Linked DNA regions of Homo sapiens: all the other regions are linked to region 5. Evidence: promoter capture Hi-C in 16 types of primary human blood cells and fetal thymus (Javierre and others, 2016). All regions are on one chromosome and are shown on one strand. Each heading gives the region's core, a stretch centred on a gene start or on the middle of the fragment in contact. The rest is flanking DNA. Distances are from core to core; before and after follow the strand shown.

Region 1 (2,700 bases), core at 69-2,568, 6.4 Mb before region 5:
GAAAATCTGAAATCTGAAATGCTCCAAAATCTGAAGCTTTTTGAGCACCCACATGATGACATAAGTGGAAAATTTCACACCTGACCTCATGTAAGGGGTCACAGTCAAAACACAAGCAAACAACACATATTTATTCAGCATCCCCAAGGGGAAAATAAAATTACCTTCGAGGTAATGAAATATAAATAAATTCTGTGTTTAGACTTGGGTCCCCTCCCCAAGATATTGCATTATGTATATGCAAGTATTCCAAAATCCAAAAAAAAAATCTGAAATCCTAGACATCTCTGGTCCCAAGCATTTCAGATAAGGGATACTTGACTTGTATAAGCTCCTTGAAGGGAGGGCTCAGGCTTCAATAAAGAGTTAACCTTCCAGGATCATTGTATCCACCCCTGTATCTCCCACAATACTGCGCACACAGCAGGGGCTCAAGCAATAACTCTGCCTACATGTTAGTTTTCTGGTGGGTAGAAACTAATTTGTAGAAACAAAAAAATCTACATGTATGGACCAATAGTGTCTGAGGTTCTCAGCAGGAACCATCAAATTCTGCAGCAAGCACATTTTCCTGGCCTACTACCACTCCAGCCTTAGAGGCAGGCACCTGAGTTTTTCCCAGGTCTGAAGGGACACTTCTGTCCAGCAATGGTTACTGGTTGAGTTGGCACAGGAAAGGCGTTGGGTGCTATAACCACTCACAACCTAATTCCCCTTCCTCAGACGATTTTCCTAGGAGTGAAAGACCAGCTCCAAATCATAGGCCCGCCCTGCCCCCAGATCTGTCTCTGGGCCGGGTGCCCTTTCCATAACACACACTCGCCACTGCATGGGGGACAGACATCCTTCCGGTGTCTTGGAGACTGAAAAACCCTAAGATCCCTAGTGGTGATTCTCCAAAAACAGAACCTAAATATTATAACTTTGGGGGCAGATGAAAGGCTGTAAGGATGAAAACAGAGGGAGATGAGTGGGTGAGAGGTGGGGTAGATAGGTGAGCGACCTTATCTTCCTTCTTTCAAAATTCAACCCACTGCATCAGGCGACACCCGTTCCCCTCGAGAAGGCCCCGGGTGGGGGCCGAAGTGGGATAGGCCAGGCCTGGAGTGCGGAGAGATGGAGAAAGCTGTAGGGTCTGGCAGACATATCCTGTGCTTACCACGATCACCACTTTGGGGGTGGGGCCCTTAACCTCCCGCTGTACGGTGCCAAACCGCTGGCTGTACATTTTCGAGTCCCCTTCGGGACGGGGGCGGCGTCCGCCGCGTTTCCCCCAACCGTGGCGACCTGCGGGACCCGCTTCCGCGACGCAGAAGTCTGGTTGCCATGGTGCGCCTCGCGGGATTAGGGGCCGGTAGAGGTGGGCGGGTCGGGCGGAAGTCGGTCTGGTCACCATGGGGGCCGCAGACGCCTGCACTCGGGACTTCCTCTTCCAGCTGAGAAGCTGAGCCTGCGCAGTCCTCACCCCGCCCCTCGGCCAAATCCCGCCGACCTTGCTCCCTTCCTCCAGGGTTCATCAGAATGGCAGAAAAAACCTCTAGCCCAAGAAAAATCAAAGCTCTAATTACAATTCCAGTTGACTTTGCTATTTATATCTTGTAATGGTCTAAAAGTATGAAAAAGGTTAGCGAACATTTTTTGGGAAGCTTAAATTTTGCACTATCTGTAGGTTAATCTTGATGACGGTAATAATCACAGGAAAACCTTATATTTGTGTAGTTCTTTACAATTTCCAAGATATTTTCACACACACAGCCTTTTAACCTCACAGATTTTTTCTGAGACAAGGTCTCGCTCTGTCGCCCAGGGTGGAGTGCAGTGGCGTGATCATGGCTCCCTGCAGCCTCGTCCTCCTGGGCCTCAGCCTCCAGAGTATCTGGGACTACAAAGCCTGCGCCACCACGCCCTGCTAATTTAAAAACAAATTTTGAAGAGACAGGGGGTCCCGCTATGTTGCTCAGGCTGGAACTCCTGCTCCTGGGTTCAAGCGATCCTCCCCACTGCCCCTCCCGCCGGCCTCCCAAAGTGTTGGAATTACAGGGTGCGCTACCGCGCGTGGCCGCAAATATCTTACAGGGTTGATAGAATAGCAAGTAATACTATCCTTATTTTCCAGCTAAGGCAAAGCTCAGGGAGCCTAAGTGCCTTGTCAAACCAAATAACCAGTAATAATAATAATTTTTTAAAACCTGTTAATAAAATCTTCCTATTTGCCATTGGCAGAAACCAGGGCTTAGACTCAGGATATCCTAGGATGGGGGCAGATCAAATGGACTAGTGGGGCAGTGGCACGACCTGGTGGAGCATAATTAAGAGTCTGAGGGTCACAGTGGACCAGGGTCAGGATGTGGATCAGAAGTCCAGTAACTGGTTTCTGAGAATCAGGATCCAGGCAGAACAGGAAACACAAATCAGGGAACCAGGACGGACCTGCAGCACAGGTGGTAACCACAGTTGCATTTCCAGTCAAGAGCAAGGTGGTAATACCTAAAAGCCAATTAAGAATGACACTGTGATACTCCCATTCTAAAGTGGGGGTGAGCATAGAACACTTGTGAGCACATGCAACAAATCAGTACCTACGTCAAACTGACATATAATAAGTACAACTAATGTGTATGCCCTCTTAAGGACGCAATTTACTGTAAATTAGCATTCCTTAATCATTTGTAAACCACCCACTTCGGATTTTGTATGTGG
Region 2 (2,700 bases), core at 44-2,543, 5.5 Mb before region 5:
ATTTGTCTCCATGATCTAAGACATAATTAAATTCAACATTTCCTTATTAACCAAATAAACACAGCCCTCAAAAGAAAAACTAAGGCTTTATCTCATTTCCTATCACGTAATAGCTGGTACAAAATAAAAACTTGGAATTCACTTTACTTTTAAAAAACTGATTTCTATAAAGATTAACAACATACACAAGTAAGGGCCATTTAGCAGTGCTTTAAGGGGTGTCTACTATAATGAAGGACTAAAGTTTGTATTAAACTAAATCTATAAAATATGTTATCTTGTCCTTCAGTAAAACTGGCACGTAAATGTTTTCTTCCTTTGTTACCCTAGACTGTTACCATAAGCACACGGAAGCAACTTGTCCTGAGAAGTGGCATCTTCATATGGCATTCAGGCTTCTTCACATTCTGGTGTGAACGCCTGCCTTCCCCCTTTTCCACCACTCCCCTTTACAGACCTCAAGTATCAAAACAACACTACTTGGCAATTATACCTAGGCTAGTCCTCCACACCCCTCCTCACATTGTTCCTCCACAGTTTTTCAATCTCCATTTGTTAGACTCCTTCCTACCCATTTTCCAAGGCCCTCTCCATAGATGTTCTCTTACCTGAGACTTTGTCATACTAAATACACTATAGTTAGTGCCATTCTACTGTTTATTAGACTGTTATCTTCTTAAGGGCAGAAAGTCTGAATTAACTTCACATTCTCAATACCACAAACTCAAAACCTGGCAAAATACAAGCTTGGTACATAGCGATTCCTCAGTGTTCTTACATGAATGGTCAACTCATTCTGATCCAAATTGAGATGTTGTAATTTTATCCCATGTAAACAAAAGTTTTCTCCTGGATTATTACTCTAAGTATCGCCAAAACCAAACAATCCAGGAATCTGAAACTCATTAACCAGAAGAACGACAAGCATAAGCTACCTTTCAATTGAAAGGTCCAGCTTTGAACAGTGTCTGTAAGTGCCAATCATCAGGCAGTCTGAACTAAGCTATCTCCTTTATCCAGATTTCAGATGAGTTTTTATTAAAATCCTACAGATAGGAAAGAAATAAGCCAAGTCTGATATGTGAAACCACCATTTCGACAGAGCTCTTATTTATGTGTACTTTAGACCACCTGGGAAAGATGAGATCATTTAAGCGGCAGCGCCATCATCTCTCTTTATTTGACCCCAACAATGCTCTCAACCTAACAGTAAAGAGGCATGCAACAACCAGGCTAAACCACATTGTCATGCGGTGGCAGCAGGTAACATCTGCCCCTTTCATAAAGGGGAAATGCTACCATAAAGAACTTAGGACCTTCCCTAAAAATGTCGGATACAGAGGTACCCCAGGCATCCCCTTCCCCCACCTTCACAAATCTACTCCTGGAATCTGAGACACAGGTCCTTTGTCTGAACAATGTGGGAGGAGTCTGTCTGCAGTACTGGTGTGCTGGCAAGTGAAGAGGAGAATTAACTGAAAACTGTATAAACCGATGAAGTTTCTTAATTACCTTAGTGTCCATTTTTTCTTCATCCTGCACACTGAACAGTTTTAAAAGACAGCCAGTGTGTCAGTGTGTCTTTCCGAGAGTTGAAACGTACCGAGAGAAATACAGTTAAGATAGGCGGCAGTGAGTTGGGCTGCTTTTCCAAAGCTAAGTTTCTCAACAGCGGAGGGGCAGGGGATGGCGGTGATACCGACCATTTGAACACCCCTTCCCTCCCCAGTGAGCTCTGTCTACAGGCCTCCATTTCTGTTCTTTTCTCCATCTGAACAAGTTCTTGTAAGGGAGGCTGAACGCTTTTAGAAGACACTCGGCGGCGCAAACTTGCAATCTCGAAGCTTTCCGTACCCAACAGCGAACCCACAACTCCTCGAGCCCGACCTTTTACCACCTCACTGAGGTTTCTGGTGCCACGCCAGCCTGGTGTTCCACGAATACAGCCCAAGTAACGTGAACACCACCGGACTGGGTCGCCCGAGAAACTTCACACTTTTTACCAGGCAAGACGGGCGGAAAAGCGTGGGTTTTCGCAAGGTGACCCATCTTCACATCTGGTCGACCCTCGGCTCCTCCCAGACCCCTTCGCGGTGGACTTGGGGGCCTCGCCGGGTTCGCCTTTTCCGTCCCACGCTCCTTTCTCTCGTCTCCCCACCCACGCCCGGGGCCATGCCCAGCTGGACCTCCCCACCCCTGCACTCACCCTGGCGGCCGACGATCTCGGCGACGTGCTCGGAGCTGGGCACCGGGACGCACTCGGTGGTGTTGACGCTCTTTCTCCGGAGCAGGGCCGCCTGCTCCCCGTTCAGGGCGGCCGCCGCCGCCCCACAACCGCCGGGGCCGTAGGCGTGGGACAGCATCGCCGCCATCATGCCCTGGGCATCGTCCCCTCCGTACAGCACCCCCGCCGCCGCCGCCGCGGCCGCCGCCTCCCGGGCATCGAACCTGGCGGCTGGCAGCAGCACAGACCCCAGGGACCCGCCCGGGATCTGCTGGGTCTGAGAGGCGGTGGCCGCGGGCGGCGACAGCAGCAGCAGCGACGACCGGTCCTCCTCCTCTGCTTCCTCCAGCTCCTCCTCCTCCAGCAGGTCTCCGTCCAGCTCCGCTTCCTCCCCCTCCTCCTCGTCCTCTTCCAGCTCCAGCTCGGCCGCCTCCGGGGCCCCGGGCCGGCCGGGCGGAGCCCGCTCCTCTGGAGAC
Region 3 (2,700 bases), core at 136-2,635, 6.4 Mb before region 5:
TGAAATATTCTGTGGCTATTGCAATATCTTAAGTCATAGTTTTTAGAGGTATATTTTACAGTTCATGCCTTCAAGAACAAAGTGTTACAGCTTGAGTTTGATTCTAGGCTCTACTAATACTAGCTGCTTTACATTGCAGAGTGTAGTTAATCTTTCTGAGAACTTTTTCTCATCTATAAAAATGGGCAAAATTAACATCCTCCTAGAAAGACATCTGAGAGAATAATATGAATTAGGTCCAGAATGGGAACTCTCCAAATAGTGCCATGCGGTAAAAGATTAACTCAGCAGGCCTTGGTTGTTCAAACCTTCACATGAAAAAAAAATCTGATATTTGACTGGCTCTTGGGAGATAACCTTAAAGTGCTCAGAATTACTTGCCTAATAAGAATGTTCAGCTGGGCACAGTGGCTCACATCTGTAATCCCAGCACTTTGGTAGGCCAAGGTGGGTGGATCACCTGAGGTCAGGAGTTCAAGACCAGCCTGGCCAAGATGGGTAAACCCTGTCTCTACTAAAAATACAAAAATTAGCCAGGTGTGGTGGCGGGTGCCTGTAATCCCACTTACTCAGGAGGTTGAGGCAGGAGAATTGCTTGAACTCAGGAGGTGGAGGCTGCAGTGAGCCCAGATCACGCCATTGCACTCCAGCCTGGATGACAGAGCAAGACTCTGTCTCAAAAAGAAAAAAAGAATGTTTATATTTACCTAGGATCTTGGTCCACACCAGATAGTTTATGATAGCAATGTGATTTGTGGTGGGGACCTTGGGCCACAGGGTATCAATATGAACTCTGGAGAGGCCGGAGACTGAGTAACCAAGGTCAGCAATGGCACCCTCCATACTCATGTAACCAATCCCCTAATAAAAACCCTGGACACCAAAGCTTGGATGAGCTTCCCTGGTTTGCAATACTTCATTCATGTTATCACAACACTGTTTCTGGGATAATTAAGTGCTGTTTATATGACTCCTCTAGGAGAGGAGAACTGGAAGCATGGTCTTTCCTGTACTATAGCCTATGAGCCTTTTTGCTCATTCAATCTGTATTCTTTTGCTGTAACAAACTAATTGGGAGCTTAGCAGTGTTTTTGTATTCTGTGTGTTCTTCTAGTGAGTCATTGAACCTGAGGATGGTCTTAGGACACCTGACACAAATATCCTTTTTCCTCATATATTATACTTTCAAGCTGATGTCTCTGAAATGTTTAAAGACTGCCAAATGTCATGAACCAGTCATTTAATATCATTGATGAGGAGGACTTGTTTAGTAGCTTTAATTCTAATCTGCTCCCTCCCTACTACAGCTTCCCCGTCCCTAACAGCCACATTTCTTTTTTTTTTTCTAGATAGAGTCTCACTTTTGTCACCCAGGCTGGAGTGCAGTGATGCAATCTCAGCTCACTACAACCTCCGCCTCCCAGGTTCAAGTGATTCTCCTGCCTCAGCCTCCTGAGTAGCTGGGATTAGAGGTGCCCACCACCACACCCAGCTAATTTGTATATTTTTAGTGGAGATGGGGTTTCACCATGTTGGCCAGGCTAGTCTCGAACTCCTGACCTCAGGTGATCTGTCCACCTTAGCCTCCCAAAGTGCTGGCATTACAGGTGTGAGCCACCGCACCTGGCCCACATTTCTTATCACACTCAGGTTCCTAGAGAGGAACAAGTGCACCAGTTTTCTAATCTGACTTCTTCCTTTCCCACTTACGCCCTCTGAAAAAACCAAAAAGAATTAAATAGGCTTGCTTCTCTGGTTTGGTGGTAGATTCTTCTACTTTTTATTCCTACCCAACTCCTACGAACCAATTTCTATCCTGAATAGGTCAGTTTCTATCCATCGCAAAGCTCATCTGTAAATATCACCTTGAATTTTATAGCCTGCAGAAGCTTCCAGTTTGTGTTTTTTAGCCCCAGATCATGATGTCCTTGGTCCTACAGAAGACAGAGCAAATCTGAGGTTTGTCATACACAAAATGGAGCATTATAAAACCCTTTGGTACTGGTCTGTGTTCATGATAATTTTTTTTCTTGATTATCCCTGTGTTCTCTTCCAAAAGTTGCCGTTACAGACACCAGAACACTCCTGTAATTTTGTTAATCTGCAATGGTTTCATATATGAGCAAGTTGTTTCCTCAATGAAATTATAAACTCCCTGAAGGTAAGAACTAAGCATCTCTTGAAGAGTAAACCACACAAGGTGAATTGAATCCACAGTTGTGTTTCCTGCAGTGCTGTGAACACAGAATTGGTTTCATTACCATCTCTGTAATTGTCTATGTGCAAAGGGGGTTTTTAATGTGGCTTCTCGGGGTTGGTTTGAAGGAACAACAGAATAGAGGTGCTTGACCAACAGTTTAAGTTGCCTTCGTCTGGAGTACTGTGGAAGGCCCATCAATAATCTGCAGCACGCAGCATTCCCCAGGCCTCCTTCACTGTTTCTGTCCTTGAAGGTACCTGCTGTTCCCATTTCCAAGCCTGCAGGACCAACTCTACACAGCAAGTTCTCACAATTCAATTACAATCAAATCAAGCAGGCTCAGGAAAATCTCAAGAGTCACTTAGAGCAGCAGGAACCCAGGAACACATGGCTGGTTAACCACCTATTCAGGCACTGTCTCCTGCCTGGGCCAATCCCCTTTTCCATGTCACACACTACACATAGCAAGGGGACAACTATCCTGGGAGTCTAGGGGAGAG
Region 4 (2,700 bases), core at 76-2,575, 6.3 Mb before region 5:
TGGCAGTTAAGCCTATTACACATGCCTCTTGCTCGTTTCTGCTGCCTGGGAGAAAGACCTGAGGACAGGGGCTGGCAGCCTGAAGGTCCAAGTGCATAATAATAGCGCAGTGGAGCCAAGGGATGGACAGAACCTGGCGGTGCCACCACTCCAGCCTTGGGTGCTTTTCCCTCCTTTTCAACAGGGAGAATTAAACTTTTGTTTTTCTTATTTTAAATTTATATTTGCTCTTAAGTGGCAGGCCAGGTCTCACTAACAGCTGAACAGACAGGCCTCCGTAACCACTGTTTCAGCACTAGTTAAGTTAAATATTAAAAGCTGAAAGAGCCAGTGTCTTTATAGAAAGGCTGGTATGTAACAAAAGCCCACCAAGAGTTTTGCCCAGGCCTTTCCTGGTCCTTGAAGCATGAGAAAATAAAGAAGGAATTCTTAACAGGACCTGTTCAAGATTAAACAAGTTTTTATTGGGGGTCTGAAGAAACTCCCCCAGACCTCCACAAACAAGTTTATCGGGGGTCTGAAGGAACTGCCCAAACCTTCATGATTTAGCAGGAGACAAGATAAGGGTAATCACCTCTGGCACCTGCAGCCATCTAGATTAAGTAAATTTACTTAAATAAAGACCTTCCTTAGGACTGATCTTAGTTATAGATTAGAAACAGTTAATCATTTACGTCTTTACACACATGCACACTTACATGTAGACAGATAGTTTAGAAGGTATATAAGCTCTGGAAAACTTTGTAATTTTGAATCGATTTGGCGATATTTTCCAGGCCTTTTCCCTGTACCCGGTTACCGAAATAAACTCTTCTTTCCCAGTTCATCATGAGAATAAGCAGCCCAACCCCTGGTTTGGCCCGGGAACACTTACAGAGGCTGTCTAAGACCCAGAAGACAGGGTCACTGTTTCTTCCACACAAACTTAGCTGCTCTTTGGAATTTTCTGGGGTGTTTTTATAAATACTAAGGCTTGTGCCTCATTTCCCCAGTGTCTGATTTCACCGACTTGGGGTGTACTCTAGGCACTGAGACTTGTAATAGCTGCCCCTGGTGACTCTAAGGTGCAGCAAATGTCAAAGACCAGGACTTGGTGACGCCAGGTCCCTGGCTGGGCTGCGGTCAAGACTGCATGACCTGCTGAAATCTCCCCAGACTGGTTAGCGCGGAAAGAGCACCTCCGGGTTACCCTTTCGTCCGGAAGCCCCGCCTTCGCCGTCGCCCCGCCTTTCCCCGGCTCGGCCACCCCTCCTTCCCGCCCAGCTGTGGCCCCGGATGACGCAAACCGGGAACAGCGGCTGAGCCTGCGCTTCGGAAGCATGGATGTGCGCCTGCGCTGCGCTAGGGCGCGGCGGGCGGTTTGAATTTTGCTTACAGAGTCCCGTCTCACCATCCTGGGCTTCCAACGGAGACTGCGGTATCCGCAGCTGGAGACCCAGCGGCGAGTAGCCTTTTGCTCCCGGACGGACTTGAGGTTGGAGTCTGTGTGTTGGGGACCCTGCCTTTGGAAGCGCCCGAGGTAGCTGCTTGGCAGCTGGGGGCCGCGGACCGCGCCGGGCTTGGGGGAGGACGGGGCTGGAGGCTGGGTTGGATGCTTTAGACCCTCCCCTTCTCTCTCACCGGCGGAGTGGGTGGGAAACTGGTTCTTTCCCATTTCTCGGCCTCCTTACCGATCCCAAACTGTAAAGCCCCAACCCCTCACAGCACAGGAAAAATGATTACCTGGGCCCATTTCTTTGACAGTGTAACACATTTTTAAAAAATGTGTCCTTATTTTGCGTGTTTAAAGAAAATACCAATGTTGTCTTTATATACAAATAGTGCGTTTGTCCTCCTGAATCCTTAAGGAAAGGACCCAGGCTTATCCTCTTTCCCCTGGTTTGGGATCCATCGATGGCCTAAGGCTCTAAGACAAGTCAGTACGGTACCGTGGTTAGAAACTGAATGTTGTAGAAATGAAAGAAATTGCTCTTGAATTTTTGTGCTTAACCTTCAAAGACATGTGATTTACTTGACATTGACCATTCTTGGATTTCGAAAGTGAACAGAAATTTGTGTGGCTTTTCTTGTTACGAATATGTTTATGTTTTTTTCTTCAGAGGCTTAAAGGATGGCCTCGTCAGATCTGGAACAATTATGCTCTCATGTTAATGAAAAGATTGGCAATATTAAGAAAACCTTATCATTAAGAAACTGTGGTAAGTAAAACAGATTCCACTGACTTTGTATATACAAAATGCATTTTGATTATTCCACTCTGAATGATATCTTTGCTTGGTTAAGTGACTGCATCTTAGGTAATTTTAGATTTTTGCATAACGATTTTTTAAATAGTCCAATGTCATTTTGAATATTGTGGAGGATACTAAAAATGTAAGGTACATTGAACAATGAACTGAATATTCATTAGAATTATTTACTTATGTTTTTCTGAGACACATAGGCCAATGGTGAGATTTGAAGGTTATGTGGCATCCATGGTTCTACAGCTAAATAGAGATACAGTCATGCGTTCCTTAATGATGGAGATGTGTTCTGACAAAAGCGTTACATGATTTTGTCGTTGTGCAAACATCACATCATAGAATGTACGTAAATGTACACAAACCTAGATGGTATAGCCTACTACATATCTAGGCTATATAGCCTATTGCTCCTAGGCAACAAACCCGTATAGCATGTGACTGTACTGAATACCTT
Region 5 (2,700 bases), core at 79-2,578:
GCTGCCATGTTGCGAGAGAGCCTTTAGTAAGGCCCATGTGGTAAGGAACTGTGGGTGGCTGCTAGGACCTGATGGCCACTTCCAGTTCAGAGCCAGTAAGAAGCCAGGGCCCCTAGTCAGACAGCCACAAGGAACTGAATGAGCTGACAGGAGTTTGGAATCAGATTCTTCCCTAGTTGAGCCTCCAGATGAGAATTGCAGTTTGGCTGACATCCACTTGTAGCCTTGTGAGAGCATGAGCACAGGACTCAGCTAACCTGTTCCTGACCTCCTTGCCCATGGAATGTGAGGCAATACATATGTGTTGCTTTAAGCCACTAAGACACTAAGACTGTGATAATTTGTTGTAAAGCAATTTTAAAAACCTGAATACCATGTGGTTAGGAAAAGTGCTACACTATTTATTAGTCAAAAGTCTTCAATTACTTTTCATTGTCTTTGGAATAAAGACCAAAAAGCTTATATGGCCACTAAAAGCCTCTTGTTATCTACATTATTCTATTTTTCCATGTTACTTTTTTATTACCTGGTCTAGGCCGAATGTGATGAAGTCTCTATCAACCCACAAGAGAGCTCCAGGGCATAGACTGCCTGTTAAAGGAGCCGCTCACGGAGCAGAAACAGCTAAGCCCTGATACCACATTTTCCCACTTCACCTACTTCACGTCCCTTGTATTTCTTCCAAATTTAACTTTCTATTTATTGCATATATTCATGTTTTACATTTCAATGCTGGTGACAAAGTTGTTTTCCTTTCCCAATTATTATTCCAAATCTGACCAATTTTTCTAGACTTCCATATGACCTAATGTGATTATCCTTCCTTACCCCAACCTAGAAATAATTCATCTCTTTTCTTCCTTGCTCCTTATTTGGCATTTCTCATCCTGCACTATACTATAGCTTATCTATCTTGGGGGACATTTGTCATTCTTTTTAGCTTTCCAGCATCCAACATACTTTCCAGTGTTTAGGGAATTCCCTACCTCTTGCATCTCAGTGGGAAGCAGTGTGATGGGGTCAGAAGTGTAAACTTGCGCAACATCCTGCTCCCAAGAAAGACGTGCACTTGCTACTTCATCCTTCGCTCCATCTTGGTCCTCCCAACTGGAGAGAGGACAGCCTAGACGAGACTTCCCACAACCAAGATGGCGGCCGTGCACTCCTTGCCCACAGCTGGCCTTTTCTCCACTTTCGGTCTCCATCGTAACGCGGCTGGCTCTCTCGGCGCCGGCTTAGGCCTTGCAAGTAGGGAAATGGTGAGTCTTTCCCGCCCCCTCATTTTTGCGACAGTTGCAGCGAAAGTCACGGCAGTTGGGGCTGGTGTCAGCTGATTTACTGCAGTGGCGGCGGCGGCGGCACCGGCACCTTGCAGTATCACTGGGGAGACGGCGGCTGTATAGCGCTTGCCGCCCCACGGATTATCCCAGCAGGATCTACGCACCCCGCATCCTCCGTAGTTCCGCCCTATCCTTGTCCTCCTTGGCTGGGGCGCCCACCGGCGGTCTGATAGGCTACATCGCGGCATGAGATGAAGCTGTGACAGGTAAGGGGGCTTTCAAGCTTCTCCATGGGAAACCACAGGGCGGGATGTTCCTGCACCGTGGAGGTCAGGGGTCAGGGGTCAAAGGTCACAAACCCGCTCTAGCCGGGGGCGGTGCTAGCTGTCAGATCGCTGCGGCTGCAAGCCTGCAGGTCGGGCCCAAAAGTAGGCGCCGTTACCAAGAGCGTGGGGGCCAGCCGGGGGTCTTTGTGGCTCCCTTGCCTGGTGAGTGATATTTGCTACTTGTGACAGTTGCTTTGGTCTTGAGGTGGGACTGCCTGGTTCCCAGGTGCAATCTAAACGGGATCAGGTGATTGGTGATGATCGTTGGTGGTTATTGACAGCAATTTTGGGCGATGTGCTTGCTTTTGGGGTTCATATAGTCTTTCCTTTCCTGTTGGTACTATTTTTGCCCATGCCCAAGGTACTGACACCACTGTTAGAATTTCATTTTTGAGATGCCATCTGCCAGTTCTTATCCCTTTGCCCTAGTACTTGTCTGAGCGGATGCCAGTCACTCCCATTCACTTAGTGATGGGTCCCAGCGTTCTGAAGCTATGTTTGAAGTCAGCACTACCCTAACTTTGATTCAAAAATTGCTGTTTTATGTTTTTTACCCACTTAGTATGTCACTTTTTGAGGCAGAATTTGCTGGGTTAGATAGTCTGAAACTAGGGAACCTACCGTCGCATGACAGGCTGCATTGATATTGTTGATGCTGCTGAATTTAGGGTTCGGTCAGTGGCAGCTATAGCTTCCTCTCACTGTAATATTTGCCATGAGACAAAAAAAGGCAAACTGACTCTTTCAGGTGTTTATGTCTTAGGATTTTATGGGCAAGGTTGCAGGAATTGCCTGTTGTATGAAAGAAATTAACTGAGTTTTTGACATTTTGTAAAACAAAAATTTTAGTTTGACTCTGCTTCTTGCTTTATAAACAAACTCGTGGCTGTATGAAGGTCAGCTTAAAAGTGAACATAATGTGTTGAAATGCCCTCATTATTACAAAGAATAAAAAACTGTCTAGTTCCATCCAGAACAATACATATTAGTTATTATAAATTGGGAAAACGAACCACTATAAATATAATTAATGCTTTATTATTAATGTCAATTAGGGATTATGGTAGAAAATTCATTTATTTTACTGCCAATCC

The links. Contacts are between HindIII fragments. The CHiCAGO score rates a contact against its expected background, and 5 or more counts as called.
Region 1: a contact is called between the fragment with the promoter of CFAP53 here and the fragment with the promoter of WDR7 in region 5, in 3 of 17 cell types (non-activated CD4 T cells, total CD8 T cells and activated CD4 T cells). The highest score is 13.5, in non-activated CD4 T cells.
Region 2: a contact is called between a fragment that was not itself captured here and the fragment with the promoter of WDR7 in region 5, in 1 of 17 cell types (activated CD4 T cells). The highest score is 10.4, in activated CD4 T cells.
Region 3: a contact is called between a fragment that was not itself captured here and the fragment with the promoter of WDR7 in region 5, in 1 of 17 cell types (non-activated CD4 T cells). The highest score is 5.9, in non-activated CD4 T cells.
Region 4: a contact is called between the fragment with the promoter of SKA1 here and the fragment with the promoter of WDR7 in region 5, in 1 of 17 cell types (non-activated CD4 T cells). The highest score is 7.5, in non-activated CD4 T cells.

The regions. Positions count from the first base shown.
Region 1 is chr18:50,265,177-50,267,876 of GRCh38, forward strand. CFAP53 (cilia and flagella associated protein 53) reads right to left here and starts at 1,319. Exons shown (of 8, transcript NM_145020.5): 1 at 1,160-1,319. The coding sequence starts at 1,228. It also overlaps a transcript of MBD1 not described here. RefSeq lists enhancers at 723-1,568, 915-1,044, 1,215-1,284. The HindIII fragment of the contact is 1,610 bases long and covers 35-1,644 here.
Region 2 is chr18:51,194,361-51,197,060 of GRCh38, forward strand. MEX3C (mex-3 RNA binding family member C) reads right to left here. Exons shown (of 2, transcript NM_016626.5): 1 at 2,207-2,700. Among named protein-coding and RNA genes, the nearest start is that of MEX3C, 2.0 kb to the right of the region's middle. RefSeq lists silencers at 339-633, 2,285-2,334, 2,355-2,404, 2,665-2,700 and enhancers at 1,325-1,946, 1,575-1,624. The HindIII fragment of the contact is 1,098 bases long and covers 745-1,842 here.
Region 3 is chr18:50,292,934-50,295,633 of GRCh38, forward strand. No RefSeq gene overlaps it. Among named protein-coding and RNA genes, the nearest start is that of CXXC1, 6.6 kb to the left of the region's middle. The HindIII fragment of the contact is 1,003 bases long and covers 885-1,887 here.
Region 4 is chr18:50,373,721-50,376,420 of GRCh38, forward strand. It overlaps SKA1 (spindle and kinetochore associated complex subunit 1), which reads left to right and starts at 1,326. Exons shown (of 7, transcript NM_145060.4): 1 at 1,326-1,474; 2 at 2,100-2,198. The coding sequence starts at 2,111. It overlaps LOC105372114 (a long non-coding RNA gene), which reads right to left and starts at 1,158. Exons shown (of 3, transcript XR_935466.3): 1 at 875-1,158. RefSeq lists a silencer at 1-113. The HindIII fragment of the contact is 8,258 bases long and covers 1-2,700 here.
Region 5 is chr18:56,650,031-56,652,730 of GRCh38, forward strand. It overlaps WDR7 (WD repeat domain 7), which reads left to right and starts at 1,329. Exons shown (of 28, transcript NM_015285.3): 1 at 1,329-1,546. RefSeq lists an enhancer at 1,060-1,449. The HindIII fragment of the contact is 1,105 bases long and covers 457-1,561 here.